4 separate regions of the Homo sapiens genome follow, and all the other regions are linked to region 2. The links are contacts of gene promoters, found by promoter capture Hi-C in human tissues and cell types (Jung and others, 2019). All regions are on one chromosome and are shown on one strand. The core of a region is centred on a gene start or on the middle of the fragment in contact, and the rest is flanking DNA. Distances in the headings are between cores, read along the strand shown. Region 1 overlaps LDLRAD4 (low density lipoprotein receptor class A domain containing 4). Region 2 holds the start of LDLRAD4 (low density lipoprotein receptor class A domain containing 4). Region 3 has its middle 47 kb from the start of LDLRAD4. Region 4 overlaps LDLRAD4 (low density lipoprotein receptor class A domain containing 4).

Region 1 (5,056 bases), core at 1,868-4,367, 37 kb before region 2:
GAAAAAGAATGTAATCTTTGGTTCACACTCAATAGATTATTCCATCCCTGAGTTTCCCTCTTGTCATCTCTAAACATTTGCTCAAAGAAATCTGAATTTTGAAATCATAAAAGCAAAAATAAAATAAATAGCCAATTCCATGACCATAAAATATTCAAATAGAGGCATCTCATTTCAAGTGTTTTCACCATCGTCCCTAGTGGCCATTCATTAGCAGATTCCATGTTAATGCTAACAAAAGAAAAAAAAAAAGGATTTCGTAGAATTAACTCATTAAGACAAACTAGGAGCTTCAAAAAGAAAACCCTAACATTCTCTGTTAAGCAAAATACTACGGAAGCATGGAAGAAAAGTAAGCGTACCTACTGAAGGTGTCTGATTATTTAGAATTTAGGAATTTTCAACTGTCTTGGTTGGGAAAAAATGGATTTTGGACAGTGAAATTTCTTTTCTGAATACTAAGTAAATAAATGAAAAACAAAAAGAAATGGAACCAGATATTGGAGATCTAACATGTTTTCAACCACTATCTGGCCATTGTATGCTTTTTTCTTTCTTTCTTTCTTTTAAGATAGGGTTTTGCTCTGTTGCCCAGGCTGAAGTGCAGTGGTATGATCACAGCCTCCAATTCCTCGGCTCAAGCGATCCTTCTGCCTCAGCCTGGCATTACAGGCCTAAGCCACTGCACCCAGCCCCATTGTATCCTTTTCTCATCTTTACCATTATCCATCTATCCAAACTACCACTACTGTTAAAGCAGGTTTCTCAACCTGGGCACGACAGACACATTGGGTTGGACAAACCCTTGTGATGAGGCTGTCCCGTGGACTGTGGGCAGTCTAACAGCATCCCTGGTCTCTCCCCACTAGATGCTAGGAGCACCTCCCACCTCCCACTTGTGACAACCAAAAATGTCTCCAGACATTGTCAAATGGCCTCTGGGGAACAAAGTCACCCCCAGGTGAGAGCCACTGCTATAAAGCATCCAGACCTATAAAATCATCCCCTATATGATCACTCAGTGTCTCACATCCAGGCTGCAGGCCGGACTCTGAAGCCCAGGCTGCCACCCCACACACGCCTGCCCATGAGCACAGCATGGATGGGGCAGGGCAGTGGGTCAGGGAAACCCATCCCTGCTCATGGAAAAGCAACCGCATGTCCACGTCCTACCAGGGATGAGCCAAAAGTGTCATCCCCAAGTCTCACAAACATCATCATTACAGAACGAAAGGACTGGCACTGAATTCTGCTCTGTCCCAGCCATCAAAAGAATGGCGAAATCTCACACTCAGGCCTTGACACTGGGCTTCTGAAGATCATTAAAAGGAAGAACATTTTCAAAGCAGAGGTTTCCACAGAAACCAGGTCATTTTTATTCTCCACGATTCAATTCACCAGCTTAAAAACCAGACCCACGGCACATGGGTTCAGGCCTTTCTGAGCCAGGGCCGCGAGGCTGTGCACGTCTGTCCCGCCGGACCCTCCAGCGCGGCATGACTCCATGGCAGAAACGTTTTAACTGGAAATGATTTGTGACAGCTCATAAACAGCTCTGAATACAAACCATTGTCAAAGGAAGTATTAACAAATTTGCACTTCTCAAGTTCCCACATAGGCAATTTTCTCATCACTCTGACAAGAGAAATGTTTAAGGAAAAGAAAACAGACAGTTCTGAGTTCTTTGGGCAATATTTTCCAAGTAAGTGCACCAAATTCCGCCAAATGGCAACTTCGTTCCAACAACACAGGTTTCCTTCCCCGGCACACACACCTGCCACACTGGGCACTGACGTGCCTGGGCTCCCTCCATTCACCTAACCCCTGCTTTTGACGCCTTCCTTAGGAAAGAGAGGCTCTCTCTTCCATGCCAGCACACACACCAGCTTACCAGGGCTCTCGTTTTCAAAGGGCTCTCTATGGAAACATCCATGGGGTGCCAGATTGCTGGATGCTAGTGGGGTCGATCTGTAACCTGACCCAAGTACTCAGCACTGTTCACACCAGTCCTACACACCTGCTGGCATTCCTGGGATTTAAACCCAGCTGCCCTAATACAATACTGATCTCGAAGCAAGAAGTCCTCAGAATGTTTTAAAACTGTCCTAACTCAGTATTTCCCAAACTTTAAGGTGCACAAGAATCCCCTTGGATCTTGTTAAAAGGCAGATTTTGATGGGGGGATGGGGTCCAAGGCTGAGGCTGAGACCACATTCCTAACCTGTGCCCATGCAGCTGATCTGTGACCCCAGGAGGGTGACTCAGAGACAGAGCCAAGAAAGGGACCCTATTTTAAAAGAAGAGCCATTTCTACTCCCAACATGGAGAGGACTCACCTCAAATGGCAGGAGGATGCTTTTAGATTCACCCAAGCCTCCCCCTACATCCAGGGCAGTTTGTGATCTGAGTCCTGCCAACATATATAATCACTGTCTCATTTTCCCTAGAATAATCAGGCAGCAAAACCTTGTGCACACACAGCACCTGTTCTCCCAGGGAATCAAAGTGCTTTACATCACGTCTTTCTTGGAAAGAAACTTAGTTTGATTTCTGGACAACAATTAACACATAATATCCTAAATAAGTGATACATCATTTTCTAAGAGGGTAGCAAGCACGAAAGTTAGGCAGAAACAAGATCATGATGAACAAGAGTGATAAAAGTCAGGCCAAAATAACACCAATGCTGATGACAAATTGTCTCCTCACAATAAAAGCAATGATCAAAGCCATCCCTTCCCCAGCCATCCTCATCCTGATAAAATGGAATTCCAGTGCTCAGCAGAAATTCAGACGCACCACATCTCCCTCGGCCAGCTCTCCACCTCAGTGCATCCTCTGGTTCCTCCTCCACTCCAAGCACCCCACAGCCCTGGCCTGGGGAGCCGTCCCTAGGGCCTCAACGCTGCAACAGCCCCTATGGCACCCTGCCTCTCCCTTGGGCCTCCACCGTGATCTATTCCCCAGAGACCCTGACCCTCTGGAAACCTACACCCAGACACTGCTCTGCTCCAAACCTGGAAGGGCTCCCATCCCACCTGGACCCTGGGCCCTATGGGAAATCACACATACCCACACATATGTTCACACATGCCTGTATGTGCACATGCATGCACATGTGCCCTCTGCACCCCCTGCTCCTCTCCAGCCATGTGGCCTTGACCACTCCAGGCAACCGCTCACCCACAGCCTTTGCACAGAGTTGCCTCAGCCTAGAATCTTCCCCAGTACCCATATGGTCACTCCCTGCTCTAATGCTACCTTCTCGGACCCCAGTACATCAAACCCCACTCTTTGTTGAGAGTGGAGCCTTTCCATTGTCTGCCTCTGCCTCTCCCAGCACAGACCCTAGGCCAGGAGGAGCTCCCACTGTGTATCCAACAGCACCTGCTGGGTGTGGAGCATCCCGGGGCTGGGGGGGGCGGGCATCTGTCTGCAGCCCCTGTGCCCAGCACACAGCAGGGCTCTGGAAGTATCTGCTGAACCCAGACACCCTGGCTGTGTCTCTGCCCCTTAGTCTCGAGCCCTCACGGGTTCAATCATTTGTTCATATTTCATATTTTCTACTATCATTTCATCTGATGATTACTGTTTTAGTCTTGCTGCCCTATTAAACAAGAAGAATTGGGTTTTTCTTTTATTTAACTTTTTTTGAGACAGGGTCCCGTTCTGTTGCCCAGGCTGGGGTGTAGTGGAACCATCTCAGCTCACTGCCACCTCTGCCTCCTGGGCTCAAGCGATTCTCATGCCTCACGCTCCTAAGTTGCTGGGACCACAGGCAAGTGCCACTACGCCCAGCTAATTTTGGGGGCTTTTGTAAAGACAACAGTTTCCCTACGTTTCCCAGTCTAGTCTCAAACTCTTGGGCTCAAATGATCCTCCTGCCTCAGCCTCCCAAAGCTCTGGGATGACAGGTGTGGGCCACCACGCCCAGTATGTTCTTTTACATGTTTAATTTGTTGAACACAGGTGGACATTTTTGTTTCTTGAGGCTCACTGTAGGTCAGAGTAAGGACTCGGCCAATTCCGTAACCACCATGAATGGAAAGATGCCGCTGGACTTCCTGGCAGAAGCATGGAGGGTCGCTGGCACTCTAGGTCCAGCTATGCCCATGGTCAGCTGAGCGACCTTGAAGAGGCGGGATTCTCTCTGTCCGCGCCAGCCCTGCTCAGCTGGGCCAGGGAAACTCCTCCAACCCCCAAACTGCCCAGTCTCCAGACCGTGGCCCAGTGCAAACAGACCCTGTCACTGCTGCTGAAAACACTCCAATGGCTCCCCAAGGCCTATAAGATCCCACTCAGCCTCAGAAAAGAAAACCCTGAGTCCACCTGGGGCCCCTCACTCCTCACCCCATCAGCTCTGGACCCGAAAAGCTCCCTGCCTCCCCTGGGCCTCGGGCTGTGCCCTCCACCCAGACAGGCTCTTCTGCCTTCACGGCGCGACACCGCCCGTCCGTGTTCAGCCCTCAGCTCCATCACCTGCCTCCAGAAATCCCTGGGCTTCCCCTCAGTGGAATCTCGCCGGGGCTTATGCTTCTCTGCCAGCACTCTCCTCCCCTCCAGCACTATCTCCCAGCAGCAGGTCTGCATTGACTCATCTGAGTCCTGGATTCCTGGGATGCCCCGTATCGCAGCAAGCCCCCAAGCACAGGGCCTTCTGCGGCCTCGGCTCTAGGGCTGGGCACACACTGGGCACTCAGTGAGTACCAGCCTGGAGGGCAGGTGAGCAGGCGAGGGAGGCGCCACCATCCTGCCATGAGATTTGTTATCAAAAACTCACCCGGCAGCTTCCTGTTCAGTGACATCTGAGGGCCAAAGGGTGAATACAACCTGTGCCAGAGATGCTCCGATACCCAGAACCTAAGCTTAATTCTAATGAAAAGAAATAAAACATGGCAGGTTCTGATCATTGTGCCTTTAAGAGAATATCAAAAAAAATTATTCCGAATTCCACTCTCTTTTCTTTGAATGCATTCCTTCCTCCCCCCACTTCATTTGCAGAACTCGAAGGGTAACACATACTGTACCTCCCACTAGAAATCAACCCCATTAGCAC
Region 2 (5,418 bases), core at 2,919-5,418:
AAAGAACACAACTGTAAACAGCTTGAAACTTGGCTTTGAGATACTTTAGGCCCTGGGCAGCTAAGAACAAAGTTGAGGTCTCCTGGGAAGAAGCTAGGTGCCTGATTTCCCTGCTCAGAGGAAGAACGGGAGTGTGGACCAGAGGTGGGGCCAGGGCAGGGGAGGAGGCGGAGCAGCCTAGCAAAATAAAGGACACAGAGTTGCTCCTTGGATTCTACTGCCCTGCAGTAGAGCCAAAAATAAAAGCAAGGCACACCCTTTTCATTTCCGAACCGAGGCACAGAATTCTAGGCGGCAGGCAGAGGCCCTCTGCGCAGCTGCATGCACACCAGGCCCATGAGCGGCGCCCAGCCGGCCGCCGGCTGCAGAGTGCGTTTGCAGTGCAAGCGTGTTGCAGACAGCGGTAATTTATTTATCCCTGTCATGTAACATTAACAATCTGTCTGGAGCTTGGCAAGCACCAACTTGCACTGTCACATAAACTGTCTGACAAACTTAAAGTTTCGTAAATGCTTCTCTTTTTCCAGCAGACAATAAAGCATCCTTAAAAAAAAATAGTTGTCATCTTTTCTGTTCCTTTTCTCTCTTCCTCTTCCAAAAAAAAAAGGAAGAAAAAGAAAAAAAAACCAACAACAAAAGAACCCATGCAAACAGAAATGATCCCTCAGCAGGATCCTTAACCCTGAACAGCTCGACATTTTTCCGATGCCAAGTAAATGAGTAAATAAATGGATGGGGGGAGTGACGTTGTAGGAGACGGTTGAGAAGGGGGTACAGAGGAAAATCTGCAAAACAAAAGTACAGTCATTAAAAATTAATAAAGGGTGTGGACATCCAGACCCCACCCCCGTCTGCTCATGGGGATTGAGCCAGACATTCTGTGTCCTCGTTAAGTGGAGTCTGGCAGGCTGCCGGAGTGTTAGTGGGTTCTGGGAATGCCAATATATTAACCAGAGGACTTTTTGCATACCCTTTAGAGTTTTTATTCTAGAAAAGTCAACCATTTGGCACAGTGCAGCATTATTTTTGTCCGGGAAAGCTCGCAGCTGCCAATCAAGGGAGAAATTATATCTATGTTCTTTGTAATCTCCAAGACCTATCTGGAAAACAAGCTTGGTGGAAAGAAAAGTCTTCACAAAAACAGCTTAAAAGGCCAAAGTACCATTTTTAGTGAGAACTCAAAAGAAAAGCAATCCATTCTTAAATCACATGGATATGTGACAATACAGACATCATTTTCAATTCCTCCTGTGATGGAAAAAAATGACATTAACTGAAAATTCAAACCCAATATTTTCAGCATAATTAATAGTACAGGTACTAGCTTCAGTCCTTTCTCTGCCTAACAATGAAGCAAACAATGCCCCCCAAAAAATGTCCCTAAAAAGTGGCAGGTCTTGTGGCCTAAATTTTCAAATAGTAGACAGAACCTTTGCATTCCTATTTTGAAACTTAAGACTCATCTTCCATGTACACCCGTAATATAGGTCAAGATGTAATTCTAAACTAACACAGTTCATATAGGCAGAAAGTCTCTTTGACATCAGAAAATAATGGCTTCCAGGAGATTTTTTTCTGAGACCTAAAAAAAGGAAGGAACAGAGGGAGAGAGGGAAGGAGACAGAGAGGAAGGAAGAAAGAAAAGAATAATTTTGGACTACATAGCAATTTTGCCGCTATTCATATTTAATATCCATGTGCCGCTATACATTCTGTTAACTATTTCCAAAAATTTTTCCAGGTTAATATGGTGCGCTCTTCTTTTACAATGTTTTATCACTTCTTGAGGGATAACATTTTTCCTTCTCTACTAACTCTTACACAGGAAGAAGGACACATCATAGAGACTGGATAAGCCCAGATTCCAAAGAAAGATGAGAAGAAACATGGCAAGGACTACCAGAAAGATCAGAGCAGTCTACAATTTCAAGAATTCCTGCCCAGGGCCCTGAGGTGGCTTTGGTTTTACGTGATGACGTAGAGCAGTCACCTCCCACCCACCACAAGGAGACTTTATGCTGGCTACATGCAGAGACGTCAGGAGCTCAGGGATCTCTGCTGGACTGCCTGCCAGAAACCATGCACAAGGAGCAAAAGTCACTCTCCTCTGACTGTGCTTCCCTATCAGTCAGGGAGGTTACCCCTGCAGCAGCCCAGAGCAAAAACAGAGAGCGTCCCAGGAGCTATGAGGCTGGTCTGCCAGGCTGCTAAGTCAACCAAGACTACAGCACAGTCCCAAACTGTAAACACCTCTGCAGACGGGCCCTTGCTCTCCGCGTGCCAGGCAAGAAAACTATTCTTAGAACACTGTCAGCAGTTGGGGGAAAATAAATATTTGTCTATGTATGTATATACTCCAGTGGGAGTAGGGTGGGGTGCAGGAGTCTCAAATAATGTGCCAACAAATTGGCACAAAATCCCTTAATAAGCAGCTGGCACTGGCTGCGTTCCACTGCAGGATTGTGGTCTTGCAAACCAAGCCCATGAGAGGATTCAAGAGACAGCCCTAAAAACCTGCCGGGAAGAGTCTTCTCCAATGTAAATACAAACCTACACGAACCAGGACCATGGCCAACAATGGCAAGCCCTTCCAAGGGTAACAGCAGAATGTTAAGAAATTAGAGAGGTCATTTAAAACAAGGGAGGAAGGTAGCTACAATTCCATTACAGCAAATCCCTTACTGGCATTTACATTCCCAGCCCTAATTCCTAACACTGTGTTCAATGTCAATAGCAAAATGAAGCTCTTAAAAAGAATTAAGCTTTCAAAGATCATAAGGAAGTTAGCCCCCTGTTTTAAAAAGCACTGCTTAGAAAGGTCCATCAAATAACATTTCAAGGGTTGATGGGAAACCAAATATAATTCAATAAATATACATGGGTAATACTCAGACATCCTCATTTGTCTATGTAATGACTCAGATTTGACACTCTGATCCTTGACTGAACACAAAGACTATATTCCAGAAGAATTGTGCAGAGTACAAAGGGAGAGTTACAGATGACAACACACTCGAGTTAAAGACTAGAAAAGACAATACCATATACAGAATGCAGACATGACTTGATGCAATGGCAGTCTCCCTGTGCAGACTTTGCAGAACCTTCTCTGTCATTCAATACTCAGTCCTGAAGCTCCAGGGAAGATACAGAGAGGAGGATGCCATTCTTGGCTAGCCAAACCGGCAGAAAGGGCCGTTTTTAAAAGGAAGCTTCCCAGCACTAGCCCTTCGAGAAGGCACCAACCTCCTTACCAGCCATAGGACCCTATTTTTGAGAGTCAATGCTGCTCACCATCTCTATCCACCTCTACTGCAAATAACTTACTAATACTAGCGCTCAGAACCCACATTCTGTGCAGCTACTCTTACCTCACATCCTACAATGCCTAACACATAGTAGGCCCTCAATAAATATGTATTGCAATGGTAATTAACATTTAGAAAGCAGCGCTGGTCCGGGGATGAGAAGATGCCAAAATAATTAGAAAAGAGAAAAAGAGAAGGGAATAGACCAAGACACAGAGGAAAAGAAAAGAAGCAAATCAAAATTATCTAATTCTAGCTAATTAAAAAATTTTGGGGGAAAAACAAAAATCATGCTAGTTCATGCGGCTATGGGCACACAGCAACCATTCCTGTGCCTGGGCAGAGCTAAGGAGTCCTGCTTGCTTTAAAGAGCTTCTAGCTGCCCTGACTGGCGACGAGGTGTCCCTCCAGGTAGGTGACCCAAGAACGCTGTACTCTCGGATGCGCCTTCCCCCAGTGCCGCCCACCCACCATGCGTCCCTGTCGTCCTGAAAACCTCTGCCTCATCGGGAAACCTTCTCCTTTTCCAATTAAAAAAAAAAAAAAAAAAGTTTAAACAAGCAAATGCCCTCTCCGCCACGATAGCGATTTAACCTAAACCGAACCCACTGTCTTCCACCGGTGTACTCACAGGGCGCGCCCCCAGGCCCACCCGGGGCGGCGCACCGGGAAGGGGTCCCGAGGAAGCTTCCTAAAGGCTGTGCAGGGCAGACCCCTTCACAAAGGCAAGTGCCGGGCCGGGCTGGGTGCTTGTCGCTTCCTGTTTATTCCAAGGTGAGGGGCAGAGAGAAATTCAACACACGCCTGCTTCCTCCGGGGCTCGGAGACCCAGCCTAAGTGCAACAGCAGCAGCCCCAGACAATCGACTTCCCAGCCAATGCCGGGAGCTCCGGGCGGTCCCGCGACCGACGTCAACGCGCGCGGGGGGACCCGGGGGGACGCCGGGTGAAGCGGGCCCGAGGGGCCGGGGCCGGGGAGCGCGCGGTGCAGGATGCGGGACTGAGGGGCTGCGGGGCTTGGCCCGCCCCCTCCTTCCCGCAAACTCCCCGGTCAGGTCCTGCAGGATCTTCCCGCTTCCCGCTGACCTCCAGTCCCTGCCCGCCACGGCTCGCCGAGGCCTAGGGGCGCGGAGACAGTTGGGGCTGCCATCCGCGCGCCCATCCTGGCCTCCGGGCGGTGCAGAATTCAGTCTTGCAACCGCGGGACACCCTGCGCCCCAGGGCACCAGGAAACAGAAAACGGGGTGGGGGTCGGCGAAGTCCCTCCACCGGCGTAACCCCGCCCGCGGGCCAGCCCCGGATCCCCGCCGTGCCCACCGGCAAGCCCACCCGGACCAAGCCTCACAGACCTCGCGCGCTCGGCGCCCAGCTTCTCCCTCCGGCCCCAGCCGACGGCGCAGGCTCGCGGACGTCCAGTTCCCAAAGCGTCCGGTTCCCGAGTCCCCCGCCACCCCTCCCTCCGGAGCGCAGCGGTGAACTTGGGCCAGAAGCCCCGACCACTGCGGCCACCTCGGGTCCGCACTCACCTGGGCCGCCCCCCCGGAGCGGAGGCGGGGACTGCCCGCAGTGCGGCTCCGCGGCCACCGGCCCTGCTGGCCAGGGGGAGGGGCGCTGTGCGGGGCGCGGCAGGGGGCGCGCGGCGGGCCGGCGGGGAGCGCGGCGCGCCGGGGTTCTTTAAGAGCTGAGGACCTCACCCCCGGGCCTCCCCCGCGCTCCCCGCCCTGCTTCCACTTTCCCAGGCACCCGCAGCCTGTCTGGCTGCAGCGGCGGCAGCGGCTCAGTGGCTTGCAGGGGATCCCCGGCCGGCCGCGGCGGCGCGCGGAGCGGGCAGGGCCAACGCACTCGCCTGCTAATCCCGCCGGGCCCGGTCCGCAGCCTCAGCGCGGGGAGAGAGGGGACGCGGCGCTGCGGCCGCCGGGGAGGTGTCCCGCCTCCAGTCGCCGGAGGGGGGAGTGTCCCGCCTCCCGCCGCCGTCGCCGCCGTCTGTCTCCAGCCGTGACTGCGCGCCGCGGCTGTGTCTGTCTCCAACTCCTCCAGTCTCTCCTCCTCCTTCCCACTCCGCGGTGGGGACCCGGCGCGCGGCCAGGCCGCGGGTACCGGGGCCGCCGTGG
Region 3 (4,813 bases), core at 2,012-4,511, 48 kb after region 2:
AACGAGCCTCGAGGCTGCTGAACCTGCTGCAGACACACTCAGTCTCGGCCCACGGCGGGCCCCACATGGCACAAGCCCTTTCCCGCACTGACTCCCCATGCTGCTTTATTCCTGACCATGTGTTGCTGTGTTCCTTCCTGGTTTGGGGCCTGCTTCGGTTCTGGTTCTGGTTTGGCCCTATCCAATGTGCAAGTCCTCTCAGCAATGACTGACAGCCAGGTTTGCAGGTCTGCCCTGGCAGGATGTGTCCCTATTGGGGCAGGAGGGGTCCATTCTCCACTAAGAGAGGACAGAAAATCTGGCTTATTCTTTCCTTCCTGCCCTCCTGTGAGCTCAACTCCATCAGAAGGATGTGCTGCGCCCCCTGGAAAAGAGAACAGGTTTTAGGATCTGGACCCATGAGTGGTGCTTCTGGGTTGGCTGTGGCCTGTGGCTGAGGATGCATGGCAGAAGCTACATGCACTCAGTGGGTCTGTGAGCCTCCAACCGAGAAAAGCCTTTACCTCTCCTCGTGTCTGAAATCTTTTCTTATATCAACAATGTATTAATAAATTAGATTACAAAGTTTCTTACAATAAAGGAACTTTGTCCTGAATGGCTGATAAGTGCTTATATGAATTTAATATCCTCAAAATCCCCAGAAAATATAGAAACTGAACTTCTAATATTTTATTTTTTATTTTTATTTTTTTTTAGACATGGGATCTTGCTATGTTGCCCAGTCTGGTCTTGAGCTCCTGGCCTCAAGTGATGCTCCCACCTCAGTCTCCTAAAGAGCTGGGATTACAGGTATGAGCCACCATACCTGGCCTTCTAATATTTTAAATGTGTTAGCTTTCCAAGAAAAAATATTTCTCCTCAAAATTACTATCCCTCATAGCATTTTTTTCTATAAGAAACTAAGTTCATATAATCAAAGTGATGAAACAAATCAGACCAGTTTGATAAATTTGATTTAAAGACAGCAAATACGCCTTTTCCTTCATTTTTTTCTATGCTGCATATAATGCAGGCATACATTTTATTTTTGATAAGATGTAAATTTGTTTGTGTTTTTAGGTTTAAATTCCCCAGTTCTTTTCTCTGTCTTTTTTTGTTTTATTTTCAAAGCTATACACAATTTCACACATACCATTATGATCTAGATATATTTACCAAGACATTTAAACATGTATATTTCCGGTTTTCAAATCCCTATTAGCAGCCAGGCACTGTGGCTCGTGCCTATAATCCCAGCACTTTGGGAGGTTGAGGCTGGTGGATTGCTTGAGGTCAGGAGTTCGAGACCAGCCTGGCCAACGTGGTGAAACCCCATCTCTACAAAAAAATATGAAAATTAGCTGGGCGTGGTGGTGTATACCTGCAATCCCAGCTACTCGGGAGTCTGAGGCAGGAGAATTGCTATAACCCAGGAGGCGGAGGTTGCAGTGAGCTGAGATTGCACCACCGCACTCCAGCCTAAGCAACGAGAGAAACCCTGTCTCAAAATAAATAAATAAATAAATAAATCCCATTAGCTTCCTAAATAAAATATCCAAGTATCATTATTAGTAATATTTATTTGTTTTATAAATTTATTTGTATTTTTATTTTGTATTTCCCTAGGTTTTTGGGAAACAGGTGGTTTTGGTTACATGAGTAAGTTCTTTAGTGGTGATTTCTGAGATTTGGTGCACCATCACCCAAGCAGTGTACATGGCACCCGATTTATAGTCTTTTATCCCTCACCCCCTCCCCCCCATCCCGATTCTCCCGTGTCCATTGTATCCTTCTAATGCCTTTGTTTCCTCATAGCTTAGTTCCCACCTATAAGAACATACGGTGTTGGGTTTTTCCATTCCTGAGTTACTTCACTTAGAATAATGCTCTCCAGTTCCATCCAGGTTGCTGCAGATGCCATTATTTCATTAATTTTTATGGCTAAGTAGTATTCCGTGGTGTATATATAACACAATGTCTTTATCCACTCGTTGATTGATGGGCATCTGGGCTGGTACCATATTTTTGCAATTGCAAATTGTGCTGCTATAAACATGTGTGTGCAAGTATCTTTTTCTTATAATGACTTCCGTTCCTCTGGGTAGATACCCAGTAGTGGGATTGCTGGATCAGATGGTTTCAGTTCTTTAAGGAATCTCCACACTGTTTTCCACAGTGGCTGTACTAGTCTACATTCCCACCAACCATGTAAAAGTGTTCCCTTTTCACCGCATCCCCACCAACATCTTTTTTTTTATTATTTCTTTTGTATTATGGCCATTCTTGCAGGAGTAAGGCAGTATCGCATTCTGGTTGTGTTCTTTTTGTTTGTTTGTTTGAGACAGAGTCTCAATCCGACACCCTGGCTGGAGTGCCGTGGCACGATCTCAGCTCACTGCAGCCTCCACTTCCCAGGTTTAAGCATTTTTCGTGCCTCAGCCTCCCGAGTAGCTGGCATTACAGGCGCCCACCACCATGCCCAGCTAATTTTTGTATTTTTAGTGAAGACAGGGTTTCACGACGTTGGCCAGGCTGGTTTTGAACTACTGACCTCAAGTGATCCTCCCGCCTTGGCCCCCCAAAGTAGCATTGTAGTTTTGATTTGCATTTCCCTGATAATTAGTGATGCTGAGCATGTTTTCATATGTTTGTTGGCCATTTGTGTATCTTCTTTTGAGAATTGTCTATTCATGTCCTTAGCTCACTTTTTGATGGGACTGTTGATACTTTTCTTGCTAACTTGTTTGAGCTCCTTGTAGATTCTGGATATTAGTCCTTTGTCAGATGCATAGATTGTGAAGATTTTCTCCCACTCTGTGGGTTGTCTGTTTACTCTGCTGATTGTTTCTTTTGCTATGCAGAAGCTTTTTAGTTTAATTAAGTCCCATCTATTTGTCTTTGTTTTTGTTGCATTTGCTTTTGGGTTCTTGGTCATGAAGTCTTTGCCTAAGCTAATGTCTAGAAGGGTTTTTCCAAGGTTATCATCTATAATTTTTATGGTTTCAGGTCTTAGATTTAAATCTTGATCCATCTTGAGTTGATTTTTGTATAATGCAAAAGGTGAGGATCCAGGTTCATTCTTCCACATGTGGCTTGCCAATTATCCTAGCACGATTTGTTAAATAGGGTGTTCTTTCCCCACTCCATGTTTTTGTTTTCTTTGTCAAAGATCAGTTGGCTGCAGGTATTTGGGTTTATTTCTGGGTTCTCTATTCTGTTCCATTGGTCTATTTGCCTATTTTTATACCAGTACCATGCTATTTTGGTGACTATGGCCTTGTAGGATAGTTTGAAGCAGATAATGTGATACCTCCAGATTTGTTCTTTTTGCTTAGTCTTGCTTTGGCTATGCAAGCTCTTTTTTGGTTCCATATGAATTTTAGGATTGCTTTTTCTAGTTCTGTGAAGAATGATGGTAGTATTTTGATGGAAACTGCATTGAATTTGTAGATTGCTTTTGGCAGTATGATCATTTTCACAATATTGGTTCCACCCATCTATGAGCATGGGATGTGTTTCCATTTGTTTGTGTCATCTATGATTTCTTTCAGCAGTGTTTTGTAGTTTTCCTTCTAGAAGTCTTTCACCTCCTTAGTTAGGTATATTCCTAAGTATTTTATTTTTTATTTTTATTTTTTGCAGCTATTGTAAAAGGGATTGAATTGTTGATTTAATGCTCAGCTTGGTTGCTGTTGGTGTATAGCAGAGCTACTGACTTGGGTGCATTAATTTTGTATTCTGAAACTTTGCTGAATTCCATCAGTTCTAGGAGCTTTTGGGGGGAGTCTTTAGGGTTTTCTAGGTATATGATCATATCATCAGCAAACAGTGACAGTTTGACTTCTTCTTTACCAATTTGGATGCCTTTATTTCTTTCTCTTGTCTGACTGCTCTGGCTAGGACTTCCAGCACTATGTTGAATAGAAGTAGTGAGGGTGGGCATCCTTGTCTTGTTCTATTCTCGGGGGAGATGCTTTCAACTTTTCCCCATTTAGTATTATGTTGGCTGTGGGTTTGTCATTGATGGCTTTTATTACATTCAGGTATGTCTCTTCTATGCCTATTTTGCTGAGGGATTTAATCATAAAGGGATGCTGGGTTTTGTCCAGTGCTTTTTCTGCATCTATTGAGATGCTCATGTGATTTTTGTTTTTATTCTGTTTATGTGGTGTATCACATTTATTTACTTGCATGTGTTAAACCTAAACCATCCCTGCATCCCTGGTGTGAACCCACTTGATCATAGTGGAGTATCTTTTTTACATGCTGTTGGATTCAGTTAGCTAGTATTTTGTTAAGGATTTTTGCATCTATATTCATCAGGGATATTGGCCTGTAGTTTTATTTTTTTGTTATGTCCTTTCCTGGTGTTGGCATTAGGGTATTACTGGCTTCATAGAATGATGTAGGGAGGATTCCCTCTTTCTTTGTATTTTGGAATAGTGTCAATAGGATTGGTATCAATTTTTCTTTGAATGTCTGATAGAATTCAGTTGTGAATCCGTCTGATCCAGGGCTTTTCTTTGTTGTTGACAATTTTTTCATTACCATTTCAATCTAGCTGCTTGTTCTTGGTTTGTTCAGAGTTCCTATTTCTTCCTGGTTTAATCTAGGAGGGATGTATATTTCCAGAAATGTATCTATGTCCTCTAGGTTTTCTAGTTTATGCACATAAAGGTGTTCATAGTAGCCTTGAATAATCTTTTGCATTTCTGTGGTATTGGTTGTAATATCTCCCATTTAGTTTCTAATTGAGCTTATTTGGATCTTTTCTTTTCTTGGTTAATCTCACTAATTTAGTCTATCAATTTTATTTTCCAAAGAACTTTTCAGC
Region 4 (5,213 bases), core at 466-2,965, 58 kb before region 2:
TGTCCCCCTCTCAAGTTTCAAAAACAGTTAAATATTTGAGGGCTGTCACGAGAAGAGGCATAAATATCAAAATGAATACAATAAAAATGCAATAATAGGCATCAAGTAATAAAGGGAAGGAAGAGAGAAGAATTACAGCACAGAATTACCAAACTGGGACAAAATCCCCCTCTGCCTCCACTCAGTCACAGGGGCACCGAGTCCTCATCTGTTAAAGGACACACGCTTGTTCCTGCAGAGGCACGGGCCTCCTCTTTGATGAGAGGCCAAATAACAGATAGTATCCCTGTTGGACTGGTCTTCTTAAAATTCATACACACTCTAAAAGCTGTGAAAAGACCATCTTCTTTCACGACAATCCAGTCTCAAGACAACATGGGCCCACCTAAGACGGGCAGGCCCCAGTGATTCCTCTGCTGAAATACATGTCTGATTTCATGGAAGAGGCAAGCCCTCTAGCAGTGACACTGCTGGGATGGTAACGTTCGTGACTCTGCCTGCAAGGCTGCCTTTACCTGCCCACCATCCTGTTAGGAGAGTGTCCTCCCAGCTGGTGCTTCAGATTTTGTCCATTCCATACAACCTGTCACTGGCATCCCCATCCCAACTGAGTGAGCATGCTCTGTGGGCATCGCACCGTCCCAGGTGGAGCGCCGGGTATCCTCGGGTGACCGCCTCGAGCTCCAAAGCAGTTTCAGGTGAACTCAGCAAAGCTCGGCCTCAGACACCACAAGCGCCTCTCAGCACCCCGCCCTCCAGTGTGCAGGACACACTCTTGTCCAAGGGGGACTAAGCCACCATCTGTCTGGCTTGTGTGCTGCAGTTCATTCTCCAGGAGGCTCGTACCCCAAAGCGTGCTCCTGCCATATGCCACTCCTGAGTGATCAGCCCATGTAAAGACAGCCGGATAAAACACGGCTGCACCTAGCTAGAGGAGCCTGGGAGATTCCTGCGGAGCTCTACCCCAGCCAAACACCTCCTTCCCATCAGTGTTGGGAGCCTACAGACATTCCTTTCTCCTCCTGTTTCCTGCCTGCTGAGAGATGAAAACAACCCACTGCTGATTTTCCAGATCTTAGTTTTTATTCCTCCACTGGGGCTGCTCTCACCAGTCTTCCTAGGACGCAAACGCTCAGATTTCTTGGGAACGGAAGTCCATGAAATAACCAGAAAGGTACTGTGGTGGGCAGAATTCTAAGGTGACTCCCCAAATTGCTTACACCCTGTACAACTCCCTCCCCTTGAGTGTAGGTGGAAGCTGTGATTGGCTTCTACCCAACCGAATACCACAAAGAATGCTTCTCCCCACACCAGGCGACCTACATAGGAGTCCGCAACGAGGGAGTGACAGACTCCCTTGCTGGCTTGGAGAAGCGAGCTGCCACCTCATGATGGGGCCTGTGAGGGGCCACTTGGCAAAGCACTACAAGGGCTCCCCAGGACCTGAGAGCAGCCCCTAGCTGACAAGCAGCAAGGGAACAGGGACATCAGTCCTGCAGTTACAAGTCAATGAATTCTGCCAGCAACATGAATGAGCCTGGAGGTGGATTCTTCCATACTCAAACCTGCAGATGGGAACACAGCCTGGCCAACACCTTGACTACAGCCTGACCAGAGAACCAACTAAGCCATGCCTGACTGTGGAGCCTTGGAAACTGTGAGATAACAAATGAGTACTGTTTTCAGCTCCTAAGTTTATAATAATTTGTTACACAGCAACAGAAAACTGATAAATGTAACTTAGTAATTAGGCCAGGTACGGTGGCTCATGTCTGTAATTCCTGTACTTTGTGAGGCCGAGGCGGGTGGATCAGGATGCCAGGAATTCAAGACCAGCCTGGCCAACACAGTGAAACCCCATCTTTACCAAGAAATACAAAAATTAGCTGAGCGTGGTGGTGCACACCTGTAGTTCCAGCTACTCGGGAGGCTGAGGCATGAGAACCACTTGAACCCAAGAGGCTGAGGTTGCAGTGAGCCAAGATCGACCCACTGCACTCCAGCATGGGCGACAGAATAAGACCCTATCTCAAAATAAATAAATAAATAAAATAACTTAGTAATTAAATATGGGTTACATAATATAAAGCATATATGCATATACTAAACGCATACACATCTGTACATTAGAGCAGGCCTCTGCCCTGCCTCATCTACCAAAAGTGGAAATTCATTCTCCTACTCAACTTTTAGCTCCTTGTGGGCAAAAACCACATCCCCGTCATCCTGGCATCCCTAACACTTTGCAGAGTATGTGGCACATGGGAGGCCTTTAACATTTTTTTTATTCTTAATTTTTGTGTGCACATAGTAGGTATATGTATTTACAGGGTACATGAGATGTTTTGATACAGGCATATAATATGAAATAAGTAAATCATGCAGAATGGGGTATCCATCCTGTTAAGCATTTATCCTTTGAGTTACAAACAATCAATTACACTCTTCAATTTTAAAATATATAATTAAGTTATTATTGACTACAGTCAGCTTGTTGTGCTATTAACATTTTTTTAAGTGAGCCAAAGTAATAGAACTATGATTTGCCAATGTCTAGTCACAAAAAGGCCACAGCAACCGAACTTATTCAAGCCTTCAGAGTAGAGCCCATAGCTCTGAATTTCAAAATAGGTTGAAGATATTTGGCTTCATGTTCTACCCCAAAAGAATGAACACACAACTTCTCCAGCACTGATTTCATTTTACCAGTGAACCTGAGTCAGTGCTTAAAATGTCACTCAGTAGTTATTACTTTTGTCAAATATCCTTGCCACTTCTCTGGCATCTACTTATCTACAGTTCAAGGTTAAAAACAAAAAAGCTCCCTAAGAGAATTTCCAAAGTAAGAATTTGTGACTCATTTTTAATTTTCCATTAGTATCAATAAATCTTTCCTTCCCAACTAAAGTGACAAAACCTGTATGGGTCAAAAGACCAGGCTCTAATTCTAAAACAAAATGCCAATCCAATTTCCTGGCAACCTGTTTCAAAATTTCTTCTGGATTTTTTTTTTTTTTTGAAACAGGGTCTTGCTATGGTATCCAGACTACAGTGCAGAGGCTGCTCACAGGCACAATCATAGCTCACTGCAGCCTCAAACTCCTGGACTCAAATGATCCTCCTGCCTCAGCCTCCCCAGTAGCTAGGACTACATGTGCACACCACCATGCCCAGCTCTTTAAGATACTCCATTTTTAAACTGATGATTTTTAACTATTTTAATCAAGACTTTAAGCTCTGTTGAAAATAATAATTCAACACATACACAGTTCCTGCTACCCAACATTGTGTCTATTTTACATTCCAAAGGGACTACTTTTAATAACAGTGATATTTGAAAATATTTAAATCAATACAATTACTTAAAAGAGTACAAAAGAAAAACTTTATTCATTACAGAAACCTGTCACACTCCCCTGAAATCTACATTCAGGACTGTATGATATATTCCCACTTCTTCATCAATCACTCAGCAAACGTGATCATCGTCTCCACGCTTTCTCCCTCATGCTTAGCCTCGCAGGCAGCAGGATTCTCACACCCAAGCCAAGAAAAACTAAAAACAGCAGTTCCATGACACGAGGCAGAGAACTGCAACAAATTCACCTCTTCCTTTCAGCATAACTTTAACTCTCTAGCTGTGAAAATAGACACTGACCTGCTGCTTAGCATCCCCTGTGTAGGGGCCAGCAGGGAACTGGAGGGGTCACTGGCCGACCCCTCCCCAGGTCCAGCCAAGAGATCAACGGCTCCAGGTTACAGCACAAAGACAGACCTGATGCCCCATCCAGGCCTCCTCCCTCTGTTTTAGTAAACACAGGCTTTTTCCATAACCTCACCAAACACAACTCAACATCAAGCCCAGGCCTCCAAGAAAGAAGGCTGAGCAGAAACACTAAGCCTCCCGGAAGGAAATCAAGCCTTCAGAAGAAAGGTTCATTCAAGAGGAAGCCACCGAGGAGAGCCAGCAAGCACAGCCGCTCGCTGAGGAGAGAAGAGAAGGCACTGGCTGAGCTCCTCACACGCCATACCCTATGGCACCAGGCATCGGGGCATCCACACGTGGGTTTCCAACAGCAGGGTCCTGTGGGGCTGCCGATCTCACTAACCCTAAACCACCTCCTGAATGACACGTCCCAGACACAGCTGTGAGCCATGGGCCCCTAAGAAGCAGAGCAAGAAGAGGCAGAGTGGGTGGAACTCCTGAAAAGGGACAGGCACCACCTCCCTTGCACCAGGACAGGACTGCATGAGGGGCTGGAGGATGGAAAACCCTGAAGGGAAGCAGGCGCGCTTATTCTTCATCTTTACGGTGTTCTCACTCTCTAAGGTAAAGGAAGATGGGAAATTTGTTTGGGCAAAAGTTGAAGAGAAGCCTGGCCGCAGGCTTCTGGCCTTTCTGGGGAGCAGGACTCACTCCAGCTGGTGGCTGGGTCCTGGGAAGCAGAGCCATTTAAAACACAAGGGGCTGGGTCCGGCAGCTCACACCTGGAATTCCAGCACTTTGAGAGGCCAAGGTGGGAGGATAGCTTAAGTTCAAGACAAGCCTGAGCAATATAGCAAGATCCTGTCTCTATAAAAAAGAAAATATTAGCCGGATGTGGTGGTGCGCACCTATAGTCCTATCTGCTCAGGAAGCTGAGGCGGGAGGATCTCTTGAGCCCAGGAGTTTGAGGCTGCAGTGAGCTATGATCACACCACTGCACTCCAGCCTGGGCAACAAAGTGAGACCCTGTCTCAAAAACAAATAAATTAAACACAAGGAGGCCCAGAGACAGAGTGAAGAGCCATCTCAGGAAAATCATAATGGGACAGAAAACACACGGAGCAGCTGGTGACATATGAAATAGAAAAGAAAGGCACCCTTCCCAAAACCAACCTTGCTTTATGATGTTTTTTTCAGAAACATTGCAGATGGACCCACCCCATCACCACAGATGCAGTAACCCACCTGATTTTTGCATCAGGGACAGTGTCACATCATAAAATGCACGTGTGCATTCATTCATGCATTCAACCTGTAAATGCCACATCGTTTTTGTTTTGACAATTTTCTAACATCTTTACTAGCTGATGCACCACAGCTCCCTAGCTTCTCTCTCTCTCACAGGACTACATTATTCTGAGTAAATTGAAGCCAAGACAGACTGACCATAGGTGCGTCTTTCCTAGGGCCTCATCGGCCAGCACCAGGAATCTGCACTCACTGGGTC

Evidence for each region. The method cuts DNA at HindIII sites, captures the fragments that hold promoters and counts their contacts. A contact is called where the count stands out against the background at its distance.
Region 1: a contact is called between a fragment that was not itself captured here and the fragment with the promoter of LDLRAD4 in region 2, in 6 of the 25 tissues and cell types used here (H1 embryonic stem cells, adrenal gland, lymphoblastoid cells and 3 more).
Region 3: a fragment that was not itself captured here is called in contact with the fragment with the promoter of LDLRAD4 in region 2 in 1 of the 25 tissues and cell types used here (mesendoderm cells).
Region 4: a contact is called between a fragment that was not itself captured here and the fragment with the promoter of LDLRAD4 in region 2, in 2 of the 25 tissues and cell types used here (aorta and dorsolateral prefrontal cortex).

The regions. Positions count from the first base shown.
Region 1 is chr18:13,253,561-13,258,616 of GRCh38, reverse strand. The region is part of intron 1 of LDLRAD4 (low density lipoprotein receptor class A domain containing 4); the gene reads right to left. Among named protein-coding and RNA genes, the nearest start is that of C18orf15, 17 kb to the right of the region's middle. The HindIII fragment of the contact is 7,509 bases long and covers 1-5,056 here.
Region 2 is chr18:13,217,510-13,222,927 of GRCh38, reverse strand. It overlaps LDLRAD4 (low density lipoprotein receptor class A domain containing 4), which reads right to left and starts at 4,168. Exons shown (of 7, transcript NM_001378100.1): 1 at 3,940-4,168. RefSeq lists a silencer at 5,008-5,377. The HindIII fragment of the contact is 3,935 bases long and covers 3,605-5,418 here.
Region 3 is chr18:13,169,047-13,173,859 of GRCh38, reverse strand. No RefSeq gene overlaps it. Among named protein-coding and RNA genes, the nearest start is that of LDLRAD4, 47 kb to the left of the region's middle. The HindIII fragment of the contact is 8,052 bases long and covers 1-4,813 here.
Region 4 is chr18:13,272,845-13,278,057 of GRCh38, reverse strand. The region is part of intron 1 of LDLRAD4 (low density lipoprotein receptor class A domain containing 4); the gene reads right to left. Among named protein-coding and RNA genes, the nearest start is that of C18orf15, 36 kb to the right of the region's middle. RefSeq lists an enhancer at 4,969-5,213. The HindIII fragment of the contact is 8,231 bases long and covers 1-5,213 here.